5 separate regions of the Homo sapiens genome follow, and all the other regions are linked to region 3. The links are contacts of gene promoters, found by promoter capture Hi-C in blood cells and fetal thymus (Javierre and others, 2016). All regions are on one chromosome and are shown on one strand. The core of a region is centred on a gene start or on the middle of the fragment in contact, and the rest is flanking DNA. Distances in the headings are between cores, read along the strand shown. Region 1 has its middle 56 kb from the start of GREB1L. Region 2 overlaps ROCK1 (Rho associated coiled-coil containing protein kinase 1). Region 3 holds the start of ROCK1 (Rho associated coiled-coil containing protein kinase 1). Region 4 overlaps ROCK1 (Rho associated coiled-coil containing protein kinase 1). Region 5 overlaps ROCK1 (Rho associated coiled-coil containing protein kinase 1).

The links. The method cuts DNA at HindIII sites, captures the fragments that hold promoters and counts their contacts. A CHiCAGO score of 5 or more calls a contact.
Region 1: a contact is called between a fragment that was not itself captured here and the fragment with the promoter of ROCK1 in region 3, in 1 of 17 cell types (neutrophils). The highest score is 5.2, in neutrophils.
Region 2: a contact is called between a fragment that was not itself captured here and the fragment with the promoter of ROCK1 in region 3, in 3 of 17 cell types (naive B cells, fetal thymus and total CD4 T cells). The highest score is 5.2, in naive B cells.
Region 4: a fragment that was not itself captured here is called in contact with the fragment with the promoter of ROCK1 in region 3 in 2 of 17 cell types (naive CD4 T cells and total B cells); the score reaches 5.4 in naive CD4 T cells.
Region 5: a contact is called between a fragment that was not itself captured here and the fragment with the promoter of ROCK1 in region 3, in 7 of 17 cell types (naive CD4 T cells, naive B cells, activated CD4 T cells and 4 more). The highest score is 7.4, in naive CD4 T cells.

The regions. Positions count from the first base shown.
Region 1 is chr18:21,184,975-21,187,674 of GRCh38, forward strand. No RefSeq gene overlaps it. Among named protein-coding and RNA genes, the nearest start is that of GREB1L, 56 kb to the right of the region's middle. The HindIII fragment of the contact is 3,283 bases long and covers 1-2,700 here.
Region 2 is chr18:20,986,792-20,989,491 of GRCh38, forward strand. It overlaps ROCK1 (Rho associated coiled-coil containing protein kinase 1), which reads right to left. Exons shown (of 33, transcript NM_005406.3): 19 at 159-319. Among named protein-coding and RNA genes, the nearest start is that of ROCK1, 120 kb to the right of the region's middle. The HindIII fragment of the contact is 907 bases long and covers 856-1,762 here.
Region 3 is chr18:21,110,402-21,113,101 of GRCh38, forward strand. It overlaps ROCK1 (Rho associated coiled-coil containing protein kinase 1), which reads right to left and starts at 1,412. Exons shown (of 33, transcript NM_005406.3): 1 at 417-1,412. The coding sequence starts at 509. RefSeq lists enhancers at 1,065-1,653, 1,307-1,601, 1,701-1,920, 1,951-2,010 and a silencer at 1,271-1,660. The HindIII fragment of the contact is 6,843 bases long and covers 1-2,700 here.
Region 4 is chr18:21,004,514-21,007,213 of GRCh38, forward strand. ROCK1 (Rho associated coiled-coil containing protein kinase 1) reads right to left here. Exons shown (of 33, transcript NM_005406.3): 15 at 2,186-2,277; 16 at 1,838-2,084. Among named protein-coding and RNA genes, the nearest start is that of ROCK1, 110 kb to the right of the region's middle. The HindIII fragment of the contact is 3,787 bases long and covers 1-2,700 here.
Region 5 is chr18:21,023,032-21,025,731 of GRCh38, forward strand. ROCK1 (Rho associated coiled-coil containing protein kinase 1) reads right to left here. Exons shown (of 33, transcript NM_005406.3): 11 at 589-649. Among named protein-coding and RNA genes, the nearest start is that of ROCK1, 87 kb to the right of the region's middle. The HindIII fragment of the contact is 1,458 bases long and covers 591-2,048 here.

The sequences.
Region 1 (2,700 bases), core at 73-2,572, 74 kb after region 3:
TTCAGCAGATCTCCCACATGCTAAGTGGCATTTCCCTTTCTGATGCCTCTCCAGAACTTTGGAGCAAGGAGAGTATTAAATGTAATCCAATCTGCTGGCTGAAGCTCTGTAGTCACTCTGCTTCATGGCCCACTAACCTTGGCCCTGTTGATCTCTGCCTTCTCCAAAAATTACCTTTTCAGGCCAGGCACAGCAGCTCACGCCCAGCACTTTGGGAGGCTGAGGCAGGTGGATCACTTGAGGTCAGGAGTTCAAGACCAGCCTGACCAACATGGTGAAACCCCATCTGTACTAAAAATACAAAAAATTAGCCGGGTGTGGTAGTGCCTTCCTGTAATTCCAGCCACTTTGGAGGCTGAGGCAGGAGAATCACTTGAACTCCAGAGGCAGAGGTTGCAGTGAGCTGAGATCGTGCCACTGCACTCCAGCCTGGGCAACAAGAGTGAAATTCCATCTTGAAAAAAAAAAATTACCTTTTCATCCCTTCAAGCCTGTTCTCAGTGCTGGCCATCTGCCATGGCCTAGCACCTCCTGGAAGTCCAGGATCAGCTGCCCAGGAAGCAGCTCCCCAACAAAGTATGAACTGTGTCTGCCTCTGCCCACCTCTGGATATCAGGTGCCTGCTTGCCCTTCCAGGGGTAATTGCTGTCTCCTTATAACAGGTAACCACTGTTCTCAGTGTCTTATTGTCCTTCCAGTATATAAATGGCATACAATTGATATTCACCTGTTTTCTTTCTTTTTCTAGACAAATAATAATGACAACACATACTGTTCGGCGCCTTTTTTCATCTAACTACAAATCTTGGCAATCTTTCTACCATTTCATAAAGTGCCTTGTTTTTTATGGTTGAATAGTACTGTTTGTATAGATGTGCTATGATGCTTTATTCAAGCAGGCCCCTCTTGATGGACTCCTACAAATTAAAAGTTGTTACAAATCTGTGACTATCACAAACAATGCTATAATGAACTGCCTTGTACTTTTCTTTTCTTTCTTTCTTTTTTTTTTTTTCTTTGAGACAGTCTCACTCTGTTACCCAGGCTGGAGTGCAGTTGCAGTGTACAATCTTAGCTCACTGCAGCCTCTGCCTCCCAGGTTCAAGCAATTCTCCTGCCTCAGCCTCTCAAGTAGCTGGGATTATGGGCACATGCCACCATGCCCGGCTAATTTTTGTATTTTTAGTAGAGATGGGGTTTCACCATGTTGGCCAGGCTGGTCTTGAACTCCTGACCTCAGGTGATCCACCTGCCTTGTTCTCTCAAAGTGCCGGGTTTGCAGGTGTGAGCCACTGTGCCCAGTCTTTTTTCTTTTGAGACAAGGTCTCACTCTGTGGAGTACAGTGGCACAATCACAGCTGACTGCAGCCTCAACCTCCCTGGCTCAAGTGATCCTCCCACCTCAGTCTCCTAGGTAACTGGGGCCACAGGCGTGCACCACCTCACCTGGCTAATTTTTTTTTTTTTTTTTTTTTGTAGAGACTATGTTGCCCAGGCTGGTCTTAAACTCCTGGGCTCGAGCAATCCTCCAGCCTCAGCCTTCCAAAGTACTGGGATTACAGGAATGAGCCAGCATACCCAACCTGTATGTCATTTTCAACATGTGTGAATTGCTAAAGATAATCAAAGACAGACATTAAAGTAATGAAAACAGATTTTATTCAGTAACTACTGACAGTAGCTGAAAGAGGTGAGCTCCATTCCGATTTATCCAGAGGTAACTGAGCAATTTAATAAAAGAATAACAGAGAAGGGAAGGGGAATAAACGGGGGCTCAAATACAGTCAGGGAAGTGAAAAATTACAAAAAGTGGGTATGAAGTTGGGTCAACCTGTCACAGTGGCTCACACCTGTAATCCCAGAACTTTGGGAAGCCAAGGCAGATGGATCACTTGAGCTCAGGAGTTTGAGACCAGCCTGGCCAACATGGTGAAACTCCATCTACAAAAACTACAAAAATTAGCTGGGCCTAGTGGTGCACACCTGTAGTCCCAGCTACTTGGGAGGCTGAGGCAAGAGGATCACTTGAGCCAGATTGTTTGAGGAGGTCGAGGCTGCAGTGAGCTGTGATCATGCCACTGCGCCTCAAATCTGGGCAATAGAGTGACACTCTAAAAAAAAAAAAAGGTGGGTGAGTGTAAATGTGATTAGGCCAGCTATGTCTACTAGCTGGCTTTTTTTTTTTTTTTTTTGAGACAGAGTATCTCTTTGTCATCCAGGCTGGAGTGCAGTGGCATGATCTTGGCTCACTGCAACCCCTGCCTCCCAGGTTCAAGCAATTCTGCTGCCTCAGCCTCCCGAGTAGCTGGGACTACAGGCATACAACACCACGCCTAGCTAATTTTTGTATTTTTAGTAGACATGGGATTTCATCATGTTGGCCAGGCTGGCCTCGAACTCCTGGCCTCAAGTAATCCACTTACCTCAGTCTCCCAAAATGCTGGGATCACAGGCATAAGCCACCACACCTGGCCTACTAGCTGGCAATTATTGAAGTTAGGACTCTCCTACAGACTGAGAGACAGGTCCTATCCTTCCTGGTGGTTACATTTCAAAAGAATGGCTTTCAGGTCCCTGAGAATGGCATGCCTAGTTTATATGAGATATGTATATATACCATCGGTATCCATGGGGGATTGATTCCAGGACCCCCAAAGGTACTAAAATTCCCAGATGCACCAATCCTTGATATAAAATAGT
Region 2 (2,700 bases), core at 59-2,558, 120 kb before region 3:
TAGGTGCTGGGGTGACCATACAGCAGTGAACACAGACCCATGTCAATTATTTCATTCAAATCTCCTTCATGGTGTTTAAATTATAGATAACTCCAGTCATAACTTATATAACCGTTTCTCTTTTAATAGATGAACAAAGTCAGTACTATTTTTCTTACTTCATCCTCCATCCTTTCTTTATTTCCAGTCAAATGTTCTAGTTTCTGCTGAGATTGCTTCAGATCAACGTCTAGCATGGAACACTGTTTCTCAATCTGAACAACCCGATTTTCAGCCTTCTCTCGAGCTTCTCTTTCTTCTTTCAGCTTTTTTTCCATCTCTGGGAAAGCAAAAAGTTACAAACATACATTTAAAGAAAGAGTACTTTAACACATTTCACTTTATATGGGCTGTAAACTGGTTTCAAATGTCTCTATTGTTTTTATTCTGGGACTTGAATAGAGCTAGTAATTATAGAAATTCTCACATTATGTAAACTATTTATATAGCAGAAATCTCTAAAGAAAAGGAGTTATAAAATATAATACAGTAATAAAATCTTCTAAACCCAGCTCTTGCCCAGTGATGAGAGATTAATCGGTACCACTTTCAGACAAGAAGGTGAAGAGTATAGCTAGAAAGGAAGTGAATTAACAAAGAACAATGAACATACATCAAGCAAAAGCAGAAAAATAAGGCTGTGGTTATTAATTTATACCCTGCATTGTTCCAGAAAAGGTTGAAGAGGCTTAAGGCTATGGTAGGAACTCCAATTTATACAATTCAGATGAATAAGATTCCACAGTAGTATACCTCTTTTAATTATTACTGGAATATATTAGTCTACACTGAGGCTCCTTTTTTGAAATATAACTAAGCTTCTGAGAGGTTAACTTTTCCATGTTCATGTAACTAGTAAGTTGCCCCATAAGGATTCAAGTTTATTTAAAGTGTGCTTTCCCACTCTTGGAGACCACCCTCTAGGTGACAAAATATAAACTATTAAATAAATATAAATAAACTATTCCTTATCTTTCCCCCCAAACTTACAAACTTAGCTGCACCAATAAAACTGTCACCTCTTAAGACCCTTCTGTTTAATCAAACACAAATCCATCCACTATGTTCTTCTGACTCTTGGTATCTCTCTCCTGAGCTCCAGACTTAGATACCAATTGACTATTTAACATCTCCACCTAGATATCTAATAATCTTATTAAAGTTAACATATCCACAATAGATGCCTTTACTTCTGGCCTATCCCCAAACCACTCCAACCCCAGTTAGACTCAGTCTTTTTTTTTTCTTTTTTTGAGATGGTGTCTCGCTCTGTTGCCCAGGATGGAATACAGTGGTGCAATCTCGATTCACTGCAACTTCCGCCTCCTGGATTCTAAGAATACTCCTGCCTCAGTCTCCTGAGTAGCTGAGATTACAGGTACGCACCACTACACGCAGCTAATTTTTGTATTTTTCAGTAGAGATGGGGGTTTCACCATGTTGCCCAGGCTGGTCTCAAACTCCTGACCTCAAATAATCTGCCTGCCTTGCCCTCCCAAAGTGCTAGCATTACAGGTGTGGGTCCCCGCACCCGGCCTCTTTCTATCCAATTCATCACTCTTCTCCTCTATACCTCGACTTCTTTCCCTCTCTACTACTACCAGTGTTTACAGCGTATAGCTTTCTAACTGATCTCCCTTTTTATCACTGTTCTCACTCTTGAAAGCATTCCCCACAGAGCAGCGGGAATGATCTTTTAAAAATATAAATTACACATCCCAGAAGCTTAAAATGTGCTAGTGGCTTAATACAAATCTTAGAATAAGAATACTGAACTTACTATCACTTCTGCCTGTAATGCACTTTCTCCAGCTCATTTAACAGGTGGTTCATTTTGACTTTCAGTTCTTACCTCAAATATTACTAGCTCAGAAAGCCTTCCTCAGAACCCCCATCCAGGGCAGTGCCAAGTCAAAACAATCATATTAATATGTATTTCCTTCCCATTAATAATTACAAGCTGTATGTATTTTCATTTATGTATTATTATTTTTTTTTGTCTATATTCACTATCTGAATGTAATCTCCGGGCTTCCTGTCAGTTTTATTCTCTGCGATATTCCCAGCTGTGCCTTGTCTGTAGGCAGTCAATAATTAACTTAAGTGAAGGAAATAAAAGAAGCTCAATATGGCTGAAGCACAGGGTACACACAACAAAGTGTAGGGTAGTAAGATTGTAAAGACAGGCAGGTGTCAACTTAAAGATTCTATATATACAAGGAGTTTGAAAGGTACCCTGCAAACAATGAAAAGCCACTAAAGGATTTTAAGGACAACCAAAATACGATTTGACTAAAAAGGAAAATTGTTCTAACCTAAGTGAGAATGACTGATGAGTAGAACAACTCTTGGCAAGATGATGATGTGATGTTCAGTAGCCAAGATAATAGCTACTGAAAACTTTCTATGCACAGGCACTTTACATGCATTTTTCATCTAACTTAGAATAGTTACAGAGCAACATTGATCTGTCTGATTCCAAAGCCTTAGCTCATAAAGACCATATGGCCATTAACTAGGTTAGTGAGAATAAAGAATAAGAGCAGGTTTGATGGATGAGATTATGAGCTTTCTTTTGAGCAAAAATAATTTAAGATGCCAACACATCCAGACTGTAGTAGGTTAAGAATAAGCAGAAGGTGAGGAAAAGACTTTTAGAAG
Region 3 (2,700 bases), core at 162-2,661:
ATCGCAAAAAGGAAAAAAAATGCAAAGTAGTCTTTCCAATTTAACTGTCAAACGGATCAGAAAGATTAACATTAATTACTACGATCGCCATTCAACAAACTGTATACATTGCAGTAACTCTGACGTGATAACTTTTTATAGGATGCCTGCAATAGCAGTTTGTAAGTATCTTTCGGGTACTCATGAACTGAGTCAGAATTAAAAGTTCAGAGTAGTTAGTACAGAGCCAGTCAAATGGCAAATAGGACCACACCATGAGATGTTAATGGTACTCCAAGATTCTTCAGGAAACAGAAATCTAGCATTTTCCAAGACGATTATGCACACCTGAGACTTTTGCAGCGAACCAGACTAATGCAAGAGGAAGGAAAGACATGCAAAACCCCAGACAAGCAAAAGAGAACAGCGCTACTCACCAGCAAACAATCCGAATTCACTTCCGATTTGGGATCCCGCAGCAGGTTGTCCATTTTTTCAAATCGAGTCTCAAAACTGTCCCCAGTCGACATGTTGCTGCTGCTGTGACAATGCCCTCTTACCAGCACCAGCAGCGGAAAGCAATTTCAACCAACTTCCTCCGCGGTGGGTTCGCAGCCGCGGGGCGGAGGAGCCGGAACCTCAGGGTCACCAGGTGCGCCCGGTTCCCCCGTCTTCCCCTCACTGAGGGGACCTCCGCTCTCCAGACCCCGGGCCGGGGGCAACAGCGACCCACAGCCGCTCGGACGCCCAAAGTCGCATCCCACCCGGCAGCCCCTCACGACAGCCGACAGCGCCGTCGCCACCAGCCTCGTCGCTCCGGCGAGGTGCTTCAGTCTAGCGGGCCCCGGCCGCCGTCGCCATGGAGGGGTCCCCGTCCCGAGATGGGCAGGAGCGGGTAGAGAAAGAGAAGCAGGGTGGAGACTCCCTCCGGGCAACAAGGGAGGGAGAAGAGGAAAGGCGAAAGCAAAGGGCGGGTGAGGAGCTGTGCCAGCTGCGGCCGCCGCTCGGGCCACGGGCCGGGCCCGCTCCGCTCAGAGGCGCTGTAGACGGTCTAGCCCCGCGTCCCCGGCTCTACTCGGCCCGGCCCGACGCACCGATCAGTCTCGGCCACGAGCTGGTCCACGCAGGACAGCCTCACTCTCCCATTTTGTCCCGTCGCTGCTGGGGCTGCTGCTACGGTGTCCGGTGGGGCAGGGCGAGGTCGATGCCCGATGGAGACTTAGCAGAGGAAAGGCTGGAGAGCGGGCGAAGAGGAAGACGATAGTTGGGTCCCGGCGGCTGCTGATGGGGGAGCTTCTGGGAGGGGCTGCGGTCCCAGCCGGGGAAAGGGCGAGTCGCGGCGGCGAATGCCTGGGGGGTGGGGCGAGGGGGGCTGAGAGGGACTAATATGTCCGCCTTCCTGTTCAAACAAACGGAGACCGCCGGGGCAGACTGCGCATGCGGGGCGCGGACGCTCGGAAGGGGAACCAGCCGGGACCCCGCGCGCGCGCGCGCACTCTGTCGCCTCCGCAGGGTGGGGTGGGGCGGGGCGGTGAGGTGGGCGGGGCCTTGCGGGCAGGCGGTGGAGAAGGCGGACCGCTGGGAGGAGCCGAGTGCGGGTAAGCAGCTGCCGGCAAGGTTCTCGCCTTGGCCGGCTCTGAGGAGCCATGCAGGGCTCTGGAGCGGCCTTGGAGGTCCGGACGGAGGCGGAGCTCTGGCTGCTTCTGATCGCTGTCCCGGCAGATGCCCCAGCTCTGTTTCCTCTGGGTTGCAGCCAGTCCAGAGACTTCTGACGAGGAGAGAGTGCTTGTTCTCCTTGTTGCTGTTAGGGTGGGGCAATAGGTTCTTTTTTAGGCAAGAAGCCTTTTCGTCGGCAGGTACCAGCATTGAGCACCAGTGGCGTTTGGTTTTCAGTGGTACTCCATGGACAGCCCTCCGCGAGCCCCGGCGTTGAACCCATTTACGATTCACTGGGAAAGTTCCGAAGCGCTGCAGCGCTCAGCCCTCCCACGCCAGGCGTGTGTGTCAGGGGAGCCATAAAATACTGACTCCGGAAGATACAGTCAATAGAAGTCAAGCTCAATTTAATTTTTTTAAAGGAAAATAATCTCGTAGAAAAAAATCAATATTTTTAAGTCGTTCGTGTTAGTTCTCATAACACCCCTACTGTAGTTCTCTCCTGGACGTGTAATGCTGCCGTTTCAATGTCAAAACATTCAGTGAAACTTAATTGTGATTTTTATCAGAACTAATGTAGGACATGAGAATAATGGGCATTTCTCCTAGTTCCGTTACTTCGTTGACTGTGGTGTGAGGAAAGGTGAAAGACTTGTCACTCACCCCCGCTGATAAAGTTATGTTCTTCACTGGTTTCAGCAGGAAATCTACCTTAATTTATTCCTCATCAAACTTTATTTTTGCTCAGAAGCCAAATTAAGGATCACTAGAAATAGAAAATGTGGATCTTTTACCCCATGATGGAAAATGCTACAGATGAACCAAAAAGCATCGGAGTAAAAAGCATCGTACAGCATCTGAACAGTCCACCAGCCTTACGATGTGAGTCAGAGGTTAGGAAAATCTTACACTGTTTGAAAAAATGTCTATTTCTATTTTCAATTTATTAAATACAAGAAATATTTAGATATAAAATCCACTATATATATCAAGATAGGACGTTCTTGGTTTATACAAAAATCATAACAAAGACAACTAGACAAACCAGGTATTTCATTAAATGCC
Region 4 (2,700 bases), core at 136-2,635, 110 kb before region 3:
ACAATAAATCATGCTATAAATTTTCCTTAACTTTTACTGATATCTAAAAAATAGATTCAGTTAAAAACCACTGTTGATAGTACATGGATGATCTCTGCCTCTGAAGCAAGGAGCTTAAAGCTCAGTCAAACACAGATCACAAACTTATAAGAATTTTAGAATTGGAAGGATTTATAGAGGTAACCTATTCTTATCTCCTTGGTTTACAGATAAAGAAGGGAGATGAAGAGACTTTCAAACAGCTAATAAGCTGTATAAAAAGGCCTAGGAAAACAATTTAAGGAAGTCTGTGACTTTCCTATTACATATAAAGTGGTTACTTTCTTAGTTATAATCAGATCTATTTTAAGCCTGGTCCCTGAGAAATATGATTGCACAACACTCCTCAGCTAAGAACCAACAGGAGATTGTATTTTCTGTTTCCTTAGTCACAAAAACTGACCCTGACCTCTCTCCACTGAATTATAGCTAATCATCAAGCCCCAAGGGACCTGAAACTATGTTCCCATCTCTAACTAAGGTTAAAAAGAACTCCTCCCTCCAATTTTTTCCTGAGACATCTGGCAACTTCTATGCATATTTGTTTTGATTAGGTAGTATGGATGCTGCTGCTAACAGGAATAGAAAATAGAAAAATATGTGAGTAGGTAAAGCCAGGAATCTTTTTGAAAACAAACTGAATTTTATTACTATTTAAAAACTGTTCATTTATTCACTTAGTTATACTCAATCTTCTGCCTCTTAGATTCACAAAGACTGTCAATATCTCCAGTTCAAACATTCCCAAGTATCTAACTTTTAATGTGTAATGGGATTTTATTTCTGCAACTGACTTTCTATTACTACCAACGATGCATGAGGAATTCCTAGGTTTTAATAGTGATAATCCTCTTTGCCTGGATTAGTCTCACTTTGAGTAAAACCTTTATGAATTAGGCAAGTTTTTAAATGAAGTTTTTGGTTAATTTGTCTGTAAAACTGAAAAATATCCACATTACATACCCTGCAGGAGTACCTGTGAGGGTGAAGAAATTACAATGTGATACAAATGTGGGCATTATTCTAAAAGAGAAAGAATGCTGGCCTGGTGTGGTGTCTCACACCCATAATGCCAGCACTTTGGGAGGTCGAGGTGGGCGGATCGCTTGAGCTCAGGAGTTTGAGACCAGCCTGGGCAAAATGGTGAAACCCCGTCTCTACAAAAAATGCAAAAATTAGCTGGGCATGGTGGCATGCACCTGTAGTCCCAGCTACTCAGGAGGTTGAGGTGGGAGAATTGCTTGACCTCAGGAGTTCAAGGCTGCAGTGAGCTGTGATCATGCCGCTGCACTCCAGCCTGTGCAACAGAGCAAGTTCCTATCTCAAAAAAACGTAAACAATAAAAAAGAATGCAACCATTTCTGGTTTCACCAAAGTCATTTTCTTTATGAGGGTAATATGATCATAAATATATTAACTTAGACTTAAAAATGGTCAAGATGGTAAATTTTATGTTATATATTTTTAACAATTAAAAATAAAAATTATAAAATATTCCTTCCATTGATAGATGAGTGGATGAACAAAATGTGGTATACACATACCATGGAATATTACTGAGCCCTAAAAAGGAAGGAAAATCTGACACACACAACATGGATAAACCTTGAAGACATTGTGCTAAGTGAAAAAAGCCAGACGCAAAAGGACAAACACTGTATGATTCCACTTATATGATGATGGTTGCATACATTGTGAACTGCATTTAATCCCACTGAACTGTATATATAAAAATGGTTAAAATGTTATAATAAATTTCATGTTACGTATATTTTACCACAATAAGAAAAAATATTACCTTGAAGGTCTCCAATCATCTCAGAATCATGACCTCTGTCTCTTCGTTCAGCTTCTAATATAGCTTGCAGCTGGTAATAATCTTTGTCTGTTTGTGACTTAGAATTCTCTAAAATTCGATTTCTCTCTTGCAACTCTCTGTTCAGGGACTCTAACTGACTAATTGACTTGCTCATCTCTGTGTGACTCTTCCTCAATCTTACAGCTGTGTCCGATTCTGTCCTAAGTAAGTCATTGGCTTCTTCTAGCTATTTAAAAAGAAAGCAAAAAAATAGGTTTCTGACCAAAGTACGATATAATTTAATTATCTACAATTTTTTTAAAAAGGAACCTCATTTGAAACACTTACCTGCTTTTGTAACTGGGACAGCTTCTCATTAGCAAGCTGTGAATTCTGACTGACTTTCTTTAAGTCTTCCAACTGATCCTTTAATGTAGAAACTAGAAAATGAAAGAATAATATATAGAAATTACAACATTTTCATAGGGGAAACATATAAATCCTTTTTTAAAAAAAGACATTTAGTCTTAGGCCATAATAGTCAGCTACATTAGGTCCACTCCCAAAGCCAAATTCCAATTTGGAAGTACCTGCATTTTAAATTCATTAAAAAGTAGAACATTATCTTCTAATACAGAGTGCAAAAAGATTTCTTCTTACTGTTGTAAATCTCAAACTCCTTTATTCCCTTTATAAGATCACTGATAGTATACTTATAAAGCTAGTTTTAATATTATTTATTTTTCAAGAGTTCAATTGCTTGATAATTCAATATCTTAATAAAAATACAAAATTTAAAAGGTACCAAATGGTAGATAGTATAGAATAAGTCCTCCTTTCTCCATTTAGTCATTTTTGCCCCT
Region 5 (2,700 bases), core at 70-2,569, 87 kb before region 3:
GGAATAGGCAAATTCATTGAGACAGAAAGTAGAACAGTGGTTACCAGGAGCTGGGGGGAGGGTGAAATGAGGAGTTACTGTTTAATTGGTATAGATTTTTAGTTTGGGATGATGAAAAGGTTCTAGAGATGGATGGCAGTGATGGCTGCACAACTATGTGAAGGTGCTTAATGCCACCGAACTGCACACTTAAAAATGATTAAAACGGTAAATTTCATGTTACGTATATTTGCCATACACACAAAACTCTCTGTTTAAATATTTTGAACATGTAATCTGTTTGCCTGTCAAGACCCTTAATGATACATTGATATATCATAGTTCCTGATTCCGAAGATTAAAAAAGATGACCACTGTCAATCTGTGTAACAATTTAGTTTACTAACTGCCTCCAAATATATTATTCCATTTGATATTTGAGCAAAAAATCAGACTGAAAAGGAGATGGGAGATGAAAGTGCCATAAAAATCTAAGTTCAGCTAACCACAGCTTCACAAACAATATATAAATTTACTATCATACCCACAAATATATTATCCACAAAACAATTTTAAAAACAATTTTCTTAATACTAAGAAAATACCTACCAAGCTTTTATCTGCATTGGAGCTAGTTCTGTTATCATTAGGATTTGCTGAAGATAAGTATCTGAGGGAAAGAAAAGTTTAAAAAGAAAAGAAAACAAAAAACTCTGTAATATCCCATGACAACCAATAATAAATACTACACGCCTATTTTATGTTCAGTTATAGTAACTTTGTTTTTAAAAATTAAGTATAGGTTCATAATTTTTATAAACATAATTCAGAAATGATACATATATTAAATAAAACACCCAGTTAGGTCTAAAAATAGTAGCAGCCTGTAAACATATGACTTAATATTCCTGCAGCAAAACATAAGAATATTCATACCAAGTAGGATAAATAAAAACCATAGTCTCAAGTTAGTTCAGATTAGGCTTTCTGGTCATGAGAGCAGGTTATGACAGGTTTTTCCACCAAACAAATAACTTAAAAACATTCAGTTTTCAGAGCTTTTTGTATATAAGAATTGGGGGTAAGAAACTGCTGACTTCTGCAGACATATGCATAACCACCTCTCCTGCACCCAACTATCCTTCAGCAAAGCATAATATTGCCTCTTCGGGTCAAAAAAGTTTTTGCCTATGTGGGTGAAATAACAGAACCAAAGTTTAGGTGATGCTGCTAATCTTTTGGGACTCCCAGCCTTGCAGAGTTCTTTAAATTCAGTGTAAAGTTAGAATTGTATATAAATAAAGCTATTAGTGAACTAATTTAGAGGTCTTTTTTAGATGTCTCACAAGATTCTCAAACAATCTAAATAGATCATATATGTAAACAATTTTTTAAGCTACCAAATATTATATAAAGGTAAGGTACTAGTACTGCCAGTGTTGCTCCTACTGCCACCATGCTACGACTACCATAATCACTACTTCTACCATCACCACCACTACAGTCAGCACCCTGATTAACCAGTAGAGCTATTGCAAAAGGAGATCAAATAGTTACAGTATACTTCATAGCTATTGGAGGCATGTGTTAACACACCAGATATTAATAATGTTCCAAAAGAACAGTTTAAGTAAATTTTAAAAATTAGTGAATAACAGAAGATAATCAAGTATCCATTAAGTATCAATAAACATACACAGTACAATGGTACTATAAAAGAAACAGCTAGAAATATGCCACTTCCTAGGTTTTCCTTGAAAAATTATTCAGATCAAATGGAGATTCAAATAACTTTAAGACAATAATAGGGGCTGTGTAGCAGCTTTATAGAGGAAAAGTCCCATATAACAAATGACAAATTCTAGGTGTGGTGCAATTTAATTCCATTGACTACTAAGCATCTCAGAAATTCAATGTGAGATTCTGCTTATGTAATATAAATAAGGCATATAGCAATGCCAGTGGCATCTAAATTAGATGAGACTGTTTCATCTCTAAGATATTTTCTAAACTTAACATGCTATGTGACTGAGACTGACATTTTAGTCTTCTGCAAAATTAGTAATATAAGCTTGAATGCAGCAAAGGAAATGTAAGGACATCACTTGTATACATCCATTAATTCTTCCACCTTCTGTCTTTTCTCTATCAAGGTACATTTGCATATTATATTGGTGCTTTTACATAGAATCTGGTCATTTAGGTAACTTTTTACAAAACGGGAGTTACTATATTAGGAATATAGCTTAAGGCTATTTTAAAAATCATGTTTAATTCAGCTATAATTAAGCAACAATGATTTCTGCCCTTGGTATTAAAAGTATATCTGGATTTCAGGGATAAGAATTTCAGAGGTTTTCTATTTCATATCTGTATATTCAAAATTATGCTTACATATTACAATAAAGCTAATCAATATTTTGCCAGGGCCAGGTGCAGTGGCTCACACCTGTAATCCGCTGGGATTACTTTGGGAGGCCAAGGTGGGTGGATCACTTGAGGCCAGGGGTTTGAGACCAGCCTGGCCAACAGCCTGGCCAACATGGCAAAACCCCATCTCTAATAAAAATACAAAGATTAGCCAGGCATGGTGGTACGCACCTGTAATCCCAGCTACTCAGAGGCTGAGGCACAAGAATCACTTGAACCCAGGAGGCAGAGATTGCAGTGAGCCAAGATCACACCACCGCACTCCAGCCTCAGCGACAGAGTGAGACTCTT